Regions from separate parts of the Homo sapiens genome. Here all the other regions are linked to region 1. Evidence: promoter capture Hi-C in human tissues and cell types (Jung and others, 2019). All regions are on one chromosome and are shown on one strand. Each heading gives the region's core, a stretch centred on a gene start or on the middle of the fragment in contact. The rest is flanking DNA. Distances are from core to core; before and after follow the strand shown. Region 1 holds the start of OR4M2 (olfactory receptor family 4 subfamily M member 2). Region 2 has its middle 31 kb from the start of OR4N4. Region 3 overlaps OR4M2-OT1 (OR4M2 overlapping transcript 1).

Region 1 (4,633 bases), core at 1,558-4,057:
CACACACATACCACTCCCATCATTATTTACTCTACCATTGCCTTTTTATTTCCTGCTTGTCTTTTAGCACTAGTAGCAATTATTTTATTTTACTTATTTATATTTTATTTTATTTTTATTTGTTTACTTATTTATTGTCTGTCTATATTTTCAGAATGGAAGTTTGATGAGGCAGATATTGAGTGTTCCTTGTTCATTGTTGTGTCTCAGCAGGTAGCATATAGTAGATACTCTCTAAATGTTTGTGGGATAAACAAATGAATAGTTTACAGAAGTGACACAGAAGCTATATATTTAGGAATAGACTTTTTAATATCACATGTAGATAGCTTTGTTTTGACATGTGTTAAATGACAAGTGCTGGACAGAATAAGAATTGTTGCGTCATTTATGGTATTTTAGGTAATGGTTATGTTAATGTAGGGAAACTAGGTGCTTGTTCTTCCTTGAAGTGACATGGTGTAGTGGTGTGTGTGTGTGTGTGTGTGTGTGTGTGTGTGTGTGTGTGTGATGAGTAGTGGCTGAGCATTACTAGCTTTGGGAGTAGGGGGTTTGATTGGCTGCCTGACTATTGGATTGAGATGCTCCAGCAAAATATTTCTTTTCCACTTGACACTTGTGAAGGGTGGAGGACAGAGACACTCATCAAGGAGTGTGGAGGGATGAATCCTTTGTATTTTTGTCCTAAGGAATAAATGTGGTTGATTTTGGTTCTTAATGCAAAGTATATACATCATTAGTTTCTAATTTTATGTCATATGTTGAACACTGAGGTACAAAAGAAAATCTCTTTGACACTTTTTTCTGGTAAAATCACCCTTTCTATTCCATAATACCTGATGTATGTCTGTCTTTTCAAGACATCAACACTCATTCACATAAATTCTTTCTAGATTAGTGCCATTTTCTACTTCTGTTTTGGTGGAATGGGTATGGAGTAGAGCAGAGGAAGAAGGGGTGATTTGTGTGATGACACTCAGAATCATTGCATCATGTCCCCATAATAATAAAAAAGCATATGATCTTGTAATGGTATTTACTGCTTTAAAATATTCATCTCCTTTCAATAATAAAGGGACAATTATTTACTTAGGAACAAATAATCGCTTCCATCTGGTCAAAAACTACATAGCATTATAGCAAAATATGTAAATGAGCTGAGTAATCATAATATTTCAGATGCTTTTGTTAGAAATTTATTTGATTGTTGGAACCTCATAGTTGACTTATCAGTGAATGTAAATGAGTTAGTATATAACTAGCTCATAGCCCTCATAACTAATAACACAATGTTGTGTTATTAGTTATGAGGGCTATGAGCTGCCTCCTCCAGGTAAGTACAATAAGATCATTGTTTCTTGGAATGTTAGGAAATATTTCATTCTGGATAACCTTATTATCTTTCTTTTGATTAAAATCTTCCTAAACCAAATTTTAAATTTTTCAATCTTATTAAATATGCTTCATTAACTCACTGAGGTCCACACTGGGCAATTTATGGACAAGGGGAAATTGATCCCTTTTCTAAATAGTCCCACACTATTCAATTTCTGAGTATTTTTACCTTTCTTCCGCTTGCTACCAGATTCCTGGAAAACACTGGTTTTATGTGTGTGTGTCTGCTTGTAGTAAGCCATCCCTTTTTCAAAATACAATGCTTCTATAAGATATTGAAAGTCATTTATCTATGTTTGTTAAAATTATGTGTAAATTGAGTCAGTAGGTTCCAAAAATGGCGCATTTAATTTCTTTTCTCAGTAGTATACATAGTGCCCATAAGTGTTTGGACACAGCCACGTCTATTTGGTTTTACAGAACCTTAACTTTTTAAAAATTCCTTTTCATATTTAATTTTTTTAAGTAATAGGAGAGGCAATATCATAAAATATCACATCAACAGAAAAGAAACAACTCTCTTGTATTTGCTGTTGGTTACAACAAAACTTACTTTGGTGTGGCAGTTTTTAACCTTACTTAAAGAAAAGCATATTTGGTAATGTGAACTGTTATTTCATTTTTATTTGACAAGTTTTGTGCTATTAGTGGTGTCAGATTCAATACAGGGCAGTAAGCAAAATTTTAAAAATAATATTATTCCCATTGTCACCTTGAAACAGCAGAGCAGATCAGCTCAGAATCAAATTGGGTAGCAAGCATACTCATTTCTCAGATCAGTACACCTACTTACGTTCCTGCTGTGGTGAGCAAATTTTATACTCAATGTAGTATCAGGTATTGATGAATCTGGTCACAGCTAGAAGAATTTTTTATATAGGGCCTTGCATAGCTGTATGTTGTGGCTGGTTACCTGTTACCAAGGATTAAGCTGTACAGGTTTTGGTTACAGTTACGGAAAAATATGTCCCTTCACTACTTATGAAGCCTTGGGATCTCTTTTCTGTATCACAACTAAAGTACTGCTAGATCTGTGTGTGTGCTATTAGAATGCAAGCCTAAGTTTCCAAGTTGGCAAGATTTCCCAACAAAAAAAAAGATATAGAAAAAAGAGGCCACATCTCTGATTGCCAGTCTAAAATTTGGCTACACTCAGAAGTAGCTTCACATATTGCTTACTAATGTAGATGTTTGGGGGAAGAAGTAGTGCATTGCCAAATTTCAGAAAAAGTAAGTTTTTAACATTAACAAGCTGAGATTTGAGTTTCAAATATATGCCACACTTCATATAGTTTTAATGTTTCCAATTTGTAACTTCATCACATACTCTCTCCCTCTTGGTTTATCAGATATAAAATGGGCAACCAAATGTATCCTCGTGTAATCTGTTAGTGACAGGGAACGTATGACAATTTTGAAAGCAGTGATATAACTCTAGGTAAATGCTATGTCTACTAATTATAGTTTCTTAATTTTCATAGCTATATTATGAAAAGAGTAAATTGAAGAAATGGAAACTGCAAATTACACCAAGGTGACAGAATTTGTTCTCACTGGCCTATCCCAGACTCCAGAGGTCCAACTAGTCCTATTTGTTATATTTCTATCCTTCTATTTGTTCATCCTACCAGGAAATATCCTTATCATTTGCACCATCAGTCTAGACCCTCATCTGACCTCTCCTATGTATTTCCTGTTGGCTAATCTGGCCTTCCTTGATATTTGGTACTCTTCCATTACAGCCCCTGAAATGCTCATAGACTTCTTTGTGGAGAGGAAGATAATTTCTTTTGATGGATGCATTGCACAGCTCTTCTTCTTACACTTTGCTGGGGCTTCGGAGATGTTCTTGCTCACAGTGATGGCCTTTGACCTCTACACTGCTATCTGCCGACCCCTCCACTATGCTACCATCATGAATCAACGTCTCTGCTGTATCCTGGTGGCTCTCTCCTGGAGGGGGGGCTTCATTCATTCTATCATACAGGTGGCTCTCATTGTTCGACTTCCTTTCTGTGGGCCCAATGAGTTAGACAGTTACTTCTGTGACATCACACAGGTTGTCCGGATTGCCTGTGCCAACACCTTCCCAGAGGAGTTAGTGATGATCTGTAGTAGTGGTCTGATCTCTGTGGTGTGTTTGATTGCTCTGTTAATGTCCTATGCCTTCCTTCTGGCCTTGTTCAAGAAACTTTCAGGCTCAGGTGAGAATACCAACAGGGCCATGTCCACCTGCTATTCCCACATTACCATTGTGGTGCTAATGTTTGGGCCATCCATCTACATTTATGCTCGCCCATTTGACTCGTTTTCCCTAGATAAAGTGGTGTCTGTGTTCAATACTTTAATATTCCCTTTACGTAATCCCATTATTTACACATTGAGAAACAAGGAAGTAAAGGCAGCCATGAGGAAGTTGGTCACCAAATATATTTTGTGTAAAGAGAAGTGAAAGATAAATTATACATTTTATAGTTCCCCTGAGGATCATTGTCCTAAAGCAGGAAGTATTTGCAGTAATAATGCTGCATTGACTTCCTCCTTTCATTTGTGTTATTAAAATTTTACTATAATTTTTCTCTATTCATTCCTCTTTATATTGAAAAAATAGAGGCATTAAGATGAAAATAAATTTACTCACACCTACCCTGAAATTCCCAACAGATCATTATTAGAATTTGAGATATAATAATCTGCTAAAGTACATTTTAACTAATTGTTTATTGAGTACTCTGCAGAGGCTCTGGCTTTGACGGGAACATGTTGAGAAAAATAAATAAGACATGAGACGTGTCTATTACAAATATGAAGTAAATGGCAAGCATATGGATGCAGCTAGCTTCAAGTTAGCAAATAAATATTGTTGTCATGTTTCAGTGTTGGCTCAGTGGAATGGTATCTGGTCAACATCTTGCTGGGTCTGGAAAAACAGATTATTTGTCCTTTATCTCCTCTTATTTCCAGAGTTGATGGAAAATGAGGATTTTCCATCAACTTATAAACTGAAATACCTTATAAAGGTATTTCAGTTTATATTTCAGGTGGTGTCTATTCAACAGTTTGGAGACAGAACTCAAAATTTTATCACATTATGAAAACAATTTTTATGAATTCAAAGCAGAGTATAATTTGGCTGATACATGAGATTCATGTCATTCCAGATGAAGCCTCCAGGCAACTAGCAATTTTTGTAGCCAGTCCCTACTTACATCCTTCAGAGTGAAAGCAGCCTTGGGGA
Region 2 (4,633 bases), core at 932-3,431, 45 kb after region 1:
GCCCCCTTAACTCCTGCATTGTTCAATTGTCAACTGTAGAAGGGGCTCTTGATTTAAGGAAATATTTATATAGGCAGATAGTAGAATAAATGTTGAGACAAATGGCTGGCAAAGGGGGAAAAGGTTAAGACATGAGCAGAAAAGCTCATTTGAAGGATCTACAAAATATTTTTTCCTATTACAATTTTGCATGTGTTTGTATGTGTGTGCATACGTGTGTGTTCATGTGGTATTTGCATATGTATATATGATGATGTGTTAAAATATGACTTTCATAAATTCCACATGTGGCTGCCAGTAACACCCAGAAATTTCTGTATTAACCACTCTATTCCACTCTAGGGATACATAAAGCAGATAGTTTTAATGCTTCTTAAAATATGTACCCTAAGATGACACTATATAGATGTGCTGTCTGTCTTTTGGTGTTTGTTTGCTTGTTTGTTTGCTTGTTTGGTGTTTGTTTGCCTGATTTTCTATTTCTCTCTTCTTTCTTCCCTCATCCTCTATCTTCTTGTCTTTCTTTTCTAGGTACTGTTGCAGTAGCATTTTCTGTCAAAGATTTTCCCTTCCTTCCGTACCCCATGTGCTAGAGCACTTATTTATTTATTTATTTATTTATTTATTTATTTATTTATTTTGAGACAGAGTCTCGCTCTGTCACCCAGGCTGGAGTGCAGTGGCATGATCTCGGCTCACTGAAAGCTCTGCCTCCTGGGTTCACACCATTCTCCTGCCTCAGCCTCCTGAGTAGCTGGGACTACAGGCAACCACCACCACTACGGCTAATTTTTTTTGTATTTTTTTAGTAGAGACGGGGTTTCACCATGTTAGCCAAGATGGTCTCGATCTCCTGACCTCGTGATCCACCCGCCTTGGCCTCCCAAAGTGCTGGGATTACAGGCATAAGCCACCACGCCCGGCCGCTAGAGCACTTATTTAAAACAAATACACTGTTTAGTTAAATCATATTAAGAATATCCTTTTATATTACAGTTTGTATTTTGTTGTAGGCCAACAATTTTCAAACTTAAAAAATTTACTCCCCTAAGACATTTTTTGAATATGTAACCTTAAATGTATGCATATTTATTTATAAAGTATATATAAACCATTGTACTATGTTATCCATTATAAATATTAAAAAGTGAATTTAGAAAAGAATGAAATGTAGTGATACATATAAAATGTTATACACTGACTAAATATAGATAAATTACTATGTTCTTTCTATACTTCAGTGGATTATCATGTGCACCTTCTGGAATGAGTATACCCCATGAAAACAATCTGAATTTTAAATATGAATTTTCTTCACAATGGACATTGTTTTTCTTTTTATTTAAACAAGGTTGAACTTACAAATCAAAGCAATACGGGAGTGATTTTAGACTAGCAATATTATCTTTAGTTATTCAGATGCACAAAAAGAACATTCATTCATTGAAGCTGTGATTAAAAAATTCTTTATCTATTTAAACTGAATAGTATACACTTGCATTATCCTACTACTTATCAAGCAGAGCAAAAAATAAAACTCACTCTAAACTTAAGTAATATAACTACAGGTTATTTCTCATCTTTGAAATGGAAGAATAACACTACAGTATCTTTATGGCTACTTACAGTGTATCTATGCTATGATCTTATGAGTTGAGATAATGATATTTTAAAGTTTTATACTTGCAAATTTTATATTGTAGCATATTTTTTGTTAAAGGGCTGTATCTTGGGTGTCATACTTGGAACAGAGAAAGAAATGTGTTGTGAGTTTATTAGTATTTGAAACTCAAAAAGTGCTAAATAAGCTGCATGCAGGTGTGGAGTGGCCACAGGAGTGGTGTTCAAACAGAGTTACAGCTGGAGCACTGTGCCTGTGTTAGGTCAAAAGTGGAGCTATAGCTTGGGATTCTCGTGAACAGTCTGGGAAAAGAGTATTCAAGGATATCAGACCAAAAGGAGTATAATAAGAAGTAAATTAGATGATAAGACAGAGGGCAAGGAAGAGAGTTACCAGCTAGGAACTGGGAATTACACAGGAACTGAGGGAAGAAAATGTCTAGGAAAATTTGGGGGTGGTGTGGACAAGGAGAAAAAGGGTCTAATCCCAAGAAAAGAACTAACCCTCAAGCATAGTATATCCAAAAAACTCAAAGACCTTCAGATTTGAAGTTAGGTTGTGTCTCCATTAGGAAACTTACATGATTTAGGAATGTAGGAATCCCAACGTGGAGGATACCAGACTCCTAACATGGAAAATGATTCTGTAGAAGCACATGGTTGAATGGGAATAAACCTGTAGCTTTGAGAACCATATTTTGTTTTCATTTTTCATTTTAAATTTGGAGAAATTAAGGTAACGGAGTTTCCCCAGAATAGGAGAGGGATGGGAAGTGTTGTTTTTAGCTGAAGTACTATATGTGCCAAATATTTTTTAGCTGTAGAACTAGTATCTAGTTGGAAGACATAGCAATAACAATTAATTCTGCTTCTTAATGTACTGCAGGCCAGGGAAATGGAAAGCGAGAACAGAACAGTGATAAGAGAATTCATCCTCCTTCGTTTGACCCAGTTTCGAGATATTTAGCTCCTGGTCTTTGTGCTAGTTTTAATATTCTACTTCTTCATCCTCCCTGGAAATTTTCTCATTATTTTCACCATAAGGTCAGACCCTGGGCTCACAGCCCCCCTCTATTTATTTCTGGGCAACTTGGCCTTCCTGGATGCATCCTACTCCTTCATTGTGGCTCCCAAGATGTTGGTGGACTTCCTCTCTGAGAAGAAGGTAATCTCCTACAGAGGCTGCATCACTCAGCTCTTTTTCTTGCACTTCCTTGGAGGAGGGGAGGGATTACTCCTTGTTGTGATGGCCTTTGACCGCTACATCACCATCTGCCTGCCTCTGCAGTATTCAACTGTCATGAACTCTAGAGCCTGCTATGCAATGATGTTGGCTCTGTGGCTTGGGGGTTTTGTCCACTCCATTATCCAGGTGGTCCTCATCATCCGCTTGCCTTTTTGTGGCCCAAACCAGCTGGACAACTTCTTCTGTGATGTCCGACAGGTCATCAAGCTGGCTTGCACCGACATGTTTGTGGTGGAGCTTCTGATGGTCTTCAATAGTGGCCTGATGACACTCATGTGCTTTCTGGGACTTCTGGCCTCCTATGCAGTCATTCTTTGTCGCATACGAGCGTCTTCTTCTGAGGCAAAAAACAAGGCCATGTCCACATGCACCACCCATATCATTGTTATATTCTTCATGTTTGGACCTGGCATCTTCATCTACACGTGCCCCTTCAGGGCTTTCCCAGCCGACAAGGTGGTTTCTCTCTTCCACACAGTGATTCTTCCTTTGTTGAATCCTGTCATTTATACCCTTCATAACCAGGAAGTGAAAGCTTCCATGAAAAAGGTGTTTAATAAACACATAGCCTGAAAAAGGGCAAAAAAAAAAAGAATAAAAATAGACTGTAGAATTTTATCTGAAATTGATTTGTTTATTTCCAAGTACTGCAATCATTGAATACCTCCCATTTGTCAGGACTATTCTAGGAACTGAAGAAAGAAAGTATTGAGGCAGATAAGGTCTATCTGCTCTCCAAGAGATACAACCTAGTAAAAATAGACCGCCGTTAAGGTAGAAAATAAACAGCATAGTTTCAGGAAGAGATACTGCTCTGTAAAAACTAAAACGAAAAGTGAAATGATAAACTGTGACTCTGGATTGGGAGTAACCAATTTGTGTTTAATAATAAAAAAAGGCCTTGAAGAGCTGACATTTTGGATCATATCTGGATAAACTGAAGAAGCCAAACATGCAAACTTTTGTGGCTATAGTATGGTAGACAGAGGGCACAGGCAGTGCAAAAACTCAAAGATGATGATGAACTTGGTATATTTGAAGAATACAATAAAGTCCATGTTACCAAGAATATAGTAATTTAATGTGAAAATGATTAAACTTAAAGTTAGAGATACTGGTAGTGTCAAAAACATATGGTCTACATAGTAAATGTGAGTTTTCATTTTATTACAATTACAATAAGAAGCCATTCTGTGGCTTTAAGCAAAAGAGTGATTCCTCTACTGAAGGGTCATAAATGACTTAGGGCTGTAAACTCAAGATTCTATGCAGATATCAAAGAGTTGAAAAATATCATTAAGAGGAAAATATTATATTTGTAAGTGCACTTTGAAAGATATTAAACTACCAATTTTTCTTACATACGTAAGCAGAGAGTGGCAAAAGAAAGCTGGTTACTTTTACTGAAAAAGATCAAAAAAAATTTTACTTTTTTTTTCTGCAGCTTCATTATTAATCCTAGCAAATTTTTATGACTTTTAGCTGTATGTTTGACCTTATTGCCAATTGATTTCACTGTAAGTTTAATAATGACAGTCTTTTCATAGACCAATCAGGATTTTGTGTCAGAGAGAAGAAACCATTCCAGCTATTTTAAACAAAACATCATTTAATATCAAGAGAGGTGTTCACAAAATCACTGCAAAGTCTAGAACAGCAGACTATAGGCTGGACACCCAGAGATGACTTACAGACTAACACAGGTGACCTATGTTGTCAGGGAAGTTGTTCTTGCTACAATCTTAGCCATCTGTTGTCTGAAAAACA
Region 3 (4,633 bases), core at 1,440-3,939, 50 kb before region 1:
GAGTGAGGCTATTCTTTTTACACTTCTCATGTGGCATTTTGTTTGGTTATTTAGTTCACACAGGTTTCTCAGGCTTAATCTTGAGTTTTGAAGTGTTCACATAGGAGTTTTTGTCTGTGTACAGTTGTTAATTGAACATTCTATGAAGGGTAGGGAAAACTGGGACCTCCTATTCTTCAATCTTCCTGATGTCACAGAGAATCTGCATTTTGAAAAGATCCATACGTGATGGTGATTGATATGGATATTAAAGTTGAGAACTACTAGGTTAAACATCTGTTTTCATGTGAAACATGAAAAATAAGCTAGATTTTGAGTTGCAATTATAGGGTAATACACATTTTTCAACTTTTTCATCTTTAATCTTGTTCATAAGAGGCTGCAACTGATCCAAAAACAACTTATTCCCAGGCTATAGCAAAGGTTTTCAAACTCAAACAATGTAGAATTACAAAATGTAGAGTTCACATCTTCTCTGGCTAAGATAATGTTGACTAATGAAAATAATGGTAGATTGGAAAATCTATTTGAGTTACTATACTTTCTTGTACCTAAGATAAAATACCCATATGATGATTATTGTTAATCCTCTACAGAAACATGATGAAAAGAAGTTTTAGTTGAGCAGAGGAGATAGAAAGCAAGATCACAGGGGGTTGGGGAGTGAATATGAAATGAAGAAGTAGAGGTTGACTATACTCTTTCATGTCACTTGGCACCCTCCAAAGTAAAAGGAATTTGATGTAATCAATTTGCCACCCATTGCTGGCTGGTTTTCTCAAAGATTGGTGCCATATTGAGGGCTTAACATTGGTTTCTCATCGAGGCTGCATCTTCAGTGGCTCAGTGATTTGTCACCAACCTTGGTAAGATAATGCCTGTATTTTTTGGCACGTGCATATTTTCCATTTATACAGCTTTCTTTATATTCCCTTTTATAAGCTCTGAGGTGAATGAAATCAGAGCTGACTGACATTTTTAGATGACTCATTCTTTTCACTTAGCTATTGAGTGCCTCCACTCTGGAGGATACTCTCTAATGGGCACAGAGTTGAGAAACAAAGATCTGCATACTTTGTGCTTATTCTCATAGGCCCATACATAGGCCTCCACCTCAAATTTCATTAAATCTGATTTTTCTGTATTTTGAGGGGGTTTGCTTAGTGAAACTTTTTTACAACAATCATTATACTACACATATCCTTATCTTGCATAGCAAGCTATTTCTCCCAACATTCAAAGTGGACAACTAAGTATATTGCTACCGAATCATTGGCTTACGAGGATTTCCTCCACCACTACATTCTATGGCTACTCTGGAGAGGCGTTAAGCTGCAGCATTAGTCAGTTTTTATCTTGTCTAAGTGTAGATTCAGACAATCCATTTGTGATCCAAGCCTGAGGCTCTTTCTTCATTTATTAGCTGGTTGTGTGAAATACCATGAAGCCATAGGTATGAACTGAGGAAGAGATATTGTCACAATGAAGGCATGTTTGTATCTTATGGAAATGCTTTTTACTGTATCTAATAGTTTTCAATTCATTCTATCAAGTGCCAGCAAGCTCAATATGAGATAGAATTTAATATTGGTAAGATAAGATTGGTTAATGATCAATTTGAAGATAATTACAAATATGGGCACTGTGCACATTTATAACAGTTGAGATTATATTTTATTAAGAATTTCTATCATTTTTTCTCATATAATTAAGAAATATAAACAAAACTGGCATGGACAGGTGAAACTCAGTGTTAAATTTATCAGCACTTTAAAGAGATCCCACCGTTGAAGTCAGTTTGAATGAAGTTCTAAATTGTTTGTATTTTCTTCCTATATAAAAGAGGTTTTCAGGCAAGTATTTAGCTATTTAATTTACATTTCACATGTGAGGTATAATAAAACAACCACTCTTTTCCCCAGAACTCATATAAATCCTGCCTTTCAAACCCAGAAAATATTCTCAACTCAGCTTCCTTGTGACACAAAAACTAATTGCAGTTGCACCTCATTTTGTGGAGCAAATAGCTATGATGGCTTACAAATTAAAATTCTGTAAACTACATTTCATATTGTGATTCCTTTTCATTAAGTTTTTGAGAGTTGTATTTGAAAAAATGGCATAGAACGAAACAAAAGTCAAAATTAAAGCAAGATATTAGTCAAATATTTTATAAAATGGATTTTAAGAGTTTTATTTTAGTACTGTCCAGCAGTACTCAAATAAGTCACACAGTATTAATACTAAATTAGTTATGGTATCAAATCCTGTGTTTAAACTGGGTTTACAACAAAGAAAGCTATATCCTGAGTAATGCTCACCTTTTTGTTTAGGTCTTTGCTGCACTATATTCCAGGTAACGAATCTGCTTTAAATTCCTAATTCTTGGTTGTGTACTCTCTGAAAAAACACTGAATATCAAACTAAGGCTATTAGTCTATTTATATAATGTAAAGACCACTTGCTACATTTTGACAAGCTGGACTACTTAAAACTTGGCTCTTTTTCAGCCAGTATCTCTTAGTGGATAATGATTGGATTATAGTGTTAATTGTGAGAGCAGTCTATGATATCTGTCACATGTGTTACCAATTGCTTTAGCTCAGTAATACAAAAAGGACGTCTGCATTCTTTTTAAAAAGTTGGGTTACATATACACGTTCTGATTAGCATAGACATAGAATTTTACATACGTATTATTCACTTCAACAGAAAATCTAATTCACTGTTGAAACATTCTTAAATAAGACCACAGTAATGCAGATTGTGGTGAGTGGTGTTTAAGATGTTAATGGCTCATTATTATAGCAGTTCTTAAATAAAACAATAAATTTGTAGACAAATATTCATGTATAATAAAGTTACATTTGATAAATGAAAATTCTCTTATTTATATTTTATTAACATCTTTTCCAGTCCTGAAGATTTTCCTCAGATAATCTTTCATCTCTTTGTTCCTGAGACTATATATTAGAGGATTACAGAGTGGTGTTATCACAGAAAAGAACAAGGTAATGATTTTTTCATTTTTACTGGGTGTGCTGATCCAGGACTAACATACATCACCATGATAGAGCCATAAAATAAGGTGACAACTGCCAAATGAGAGGCACAAGTGGAGAAAGCTTTTCGTTTGCCAGCCTCTGAAGGCATCCGTATTATAGCCAGAATCACCAGAGCATAGGAACAAAGGATAAAGAGAAAGGTGCCAATTATGAAGACAGAATTGAATGTGGAGTAAATGAGCTGGGTGATGATGATGTCTTCAGAACAGGACAGCATCTTCAATGGGACGGGATCACAAATAAAATGGTTGATAATATTTGGGCCACAGTAGGATAGCTGTGAAATGAGAATCACCAGAGTTAGGAAGATTACAAAGACACATGACCATGCAAAAATGATGAGGCCAGTGCATACTTGTTTAGTCATGATGCATGGATAACGTAGAGGGCGGCAGATGGCAAGATACCTGTCAAAGGCCGTGATGCAAAGGAAGAAGCCCTCATCATACCCCAAAGAGAAGAAGTAGAACTGTGCAAAACAACTCATGAATGAGATGGACTTGCTTGTGGAGAGGAAGTTGGCCAGCAGTTTAGTTGCAGTAACATAACATATTTCCAGGAGAGAGAAATTTCCCAAGAGGGTGTACATGGGAGTGTGAAGGTGCTGGTCCTACCACACAGCACAGACAATGGCTGCATTTCCCATCGGGGTGAGAGTATAGGCTACTGAGAAGAGACCGAAGTAGAGGAGCTGCATTTCTGGGCTTGAGGGAAAGCCCATGAGGATAAGGCAGCTAACAAAATTGATAGTTTCCATGCTGAACACATTCATTAGTCTGGAAGACATGGAGATGGCAGAGGTAACTGAAACATGAAAGGGAGTGTGCTGTTTCTTCTTGGAAACAACCAAAATTCTTCATCATGTATATTATAAAGTAGTAAACAATTAGACTTTTGTTTAAACAACAAAACTGTGACTTTCATGACTCAATTCCTACACATGTTTATTTTAATAAATCACAACAATAGAAGGGAAAATATGAATTGTGGAGAGTTTTTTTTCTTGCTAAGAACACTAGACTTGAAACCAGGAATGCAAATTTTGTGATTCCAATAAATTACCTATATACAATGGGTCTACTCTTTCTTCTGTTTACCTGCATTATTGATACTGTATTTATCTGGGTATGTAGTTCTTTCAACAGTACTATGAATACCTGATTCATTATTATTAGTGGTATAAAAATAAAATACAAAACCAAGATATTTAAAAATACTCTTTCTCAATATAGTGCCATGCCAGGGCACAAATTAATATTTACTTTCAATTTCAGCTACTCCCGGTTACTTGTAGTGTTTTAAAGTGGTAATAAGAAAGAACTCTGTCATTAGAGAATATATGGTCTTTTATGCTGTTTCATGTATCTGTACCAATGTTTAGCATAAAAAATACATTCTTTCATTTTTAGGCAGCTGGATACGCTATATGCTGTGAGGAAGCGTGCCATACTTTGGCTCTTAAATTGCTCTGACTAAATATTTTTATATGCTTCCAGGTGAATGTAAGAACTTCATATGCCTATTATGACATTGACCTTAGGGAGAACAGCTGGTCTGCGTGACTGTGG

What was found. Contacts are between HindIII fragments. The study calls those that stand out against the background at their distance.
Region 2: a fragment that was not itself captured here is called in contact with the fragment with the promoter of OR4M2 in region 1 in 8 of the 25 tissues and cell types used here (adrenal gland, aorta, bladder and 5 more).
Region 3: a contact is called between a fragment that was not itself captured here and the fragment with the promoter of OR4M2 in region 1, in 2 of the 25 tissues and cell types used here (bladder and spleen).

The regions. Positions count from the first base shown.
Region 1 is chr15:22,077,720-22,082,352 of GRCh38, forward strand. It overlaps OR4M2 (olfactory receptor family 4 subfamily M member 2), which reads left to right and starts at 2,808. Exons shown (of 1, transcript NM_001004719.2): 1 at 2,808-3,891. The coding sequence starts at 2,906. The coding sequence ends at 3,847. All of the region lies in intron 7 of OR4M2-OT1 (OR4M2 overlapping transcript 1), which reads left to right. The HindIII fragment of the contact is 6,887 bases long and covers 1-4,633 here.
Region 2 is chr15:22,122,996-22,127,628 of GRCh38, forward strand. It overlaps the pseudogene OR4N3P. Among named protein-coding and RNA genes, the nearest start is that of OR4N4, 31 kb to the left of the region's middle. The HindIII fragment of the contact is 6,844 bases long and covers 1-4,633 here.
Region 3 is chr15:22,028,010-22,032,642 of GRCh38, forward strand. OR4M2-OT1 (OR4M2 overlapping transcript 1) reads left to right here. Exons shown (of 9, transcript NR_110480.2): 4 at 2,917-3,011. It also overlaps the pseudogene OR11K1P. Among named protein-coding and RNA genes, the nearest start is that of OR4M2-OT1, 40 kb to the left of the region's middle. The HindIII fragment of the contact is 4,215 bases long and covers 583-4,633 here.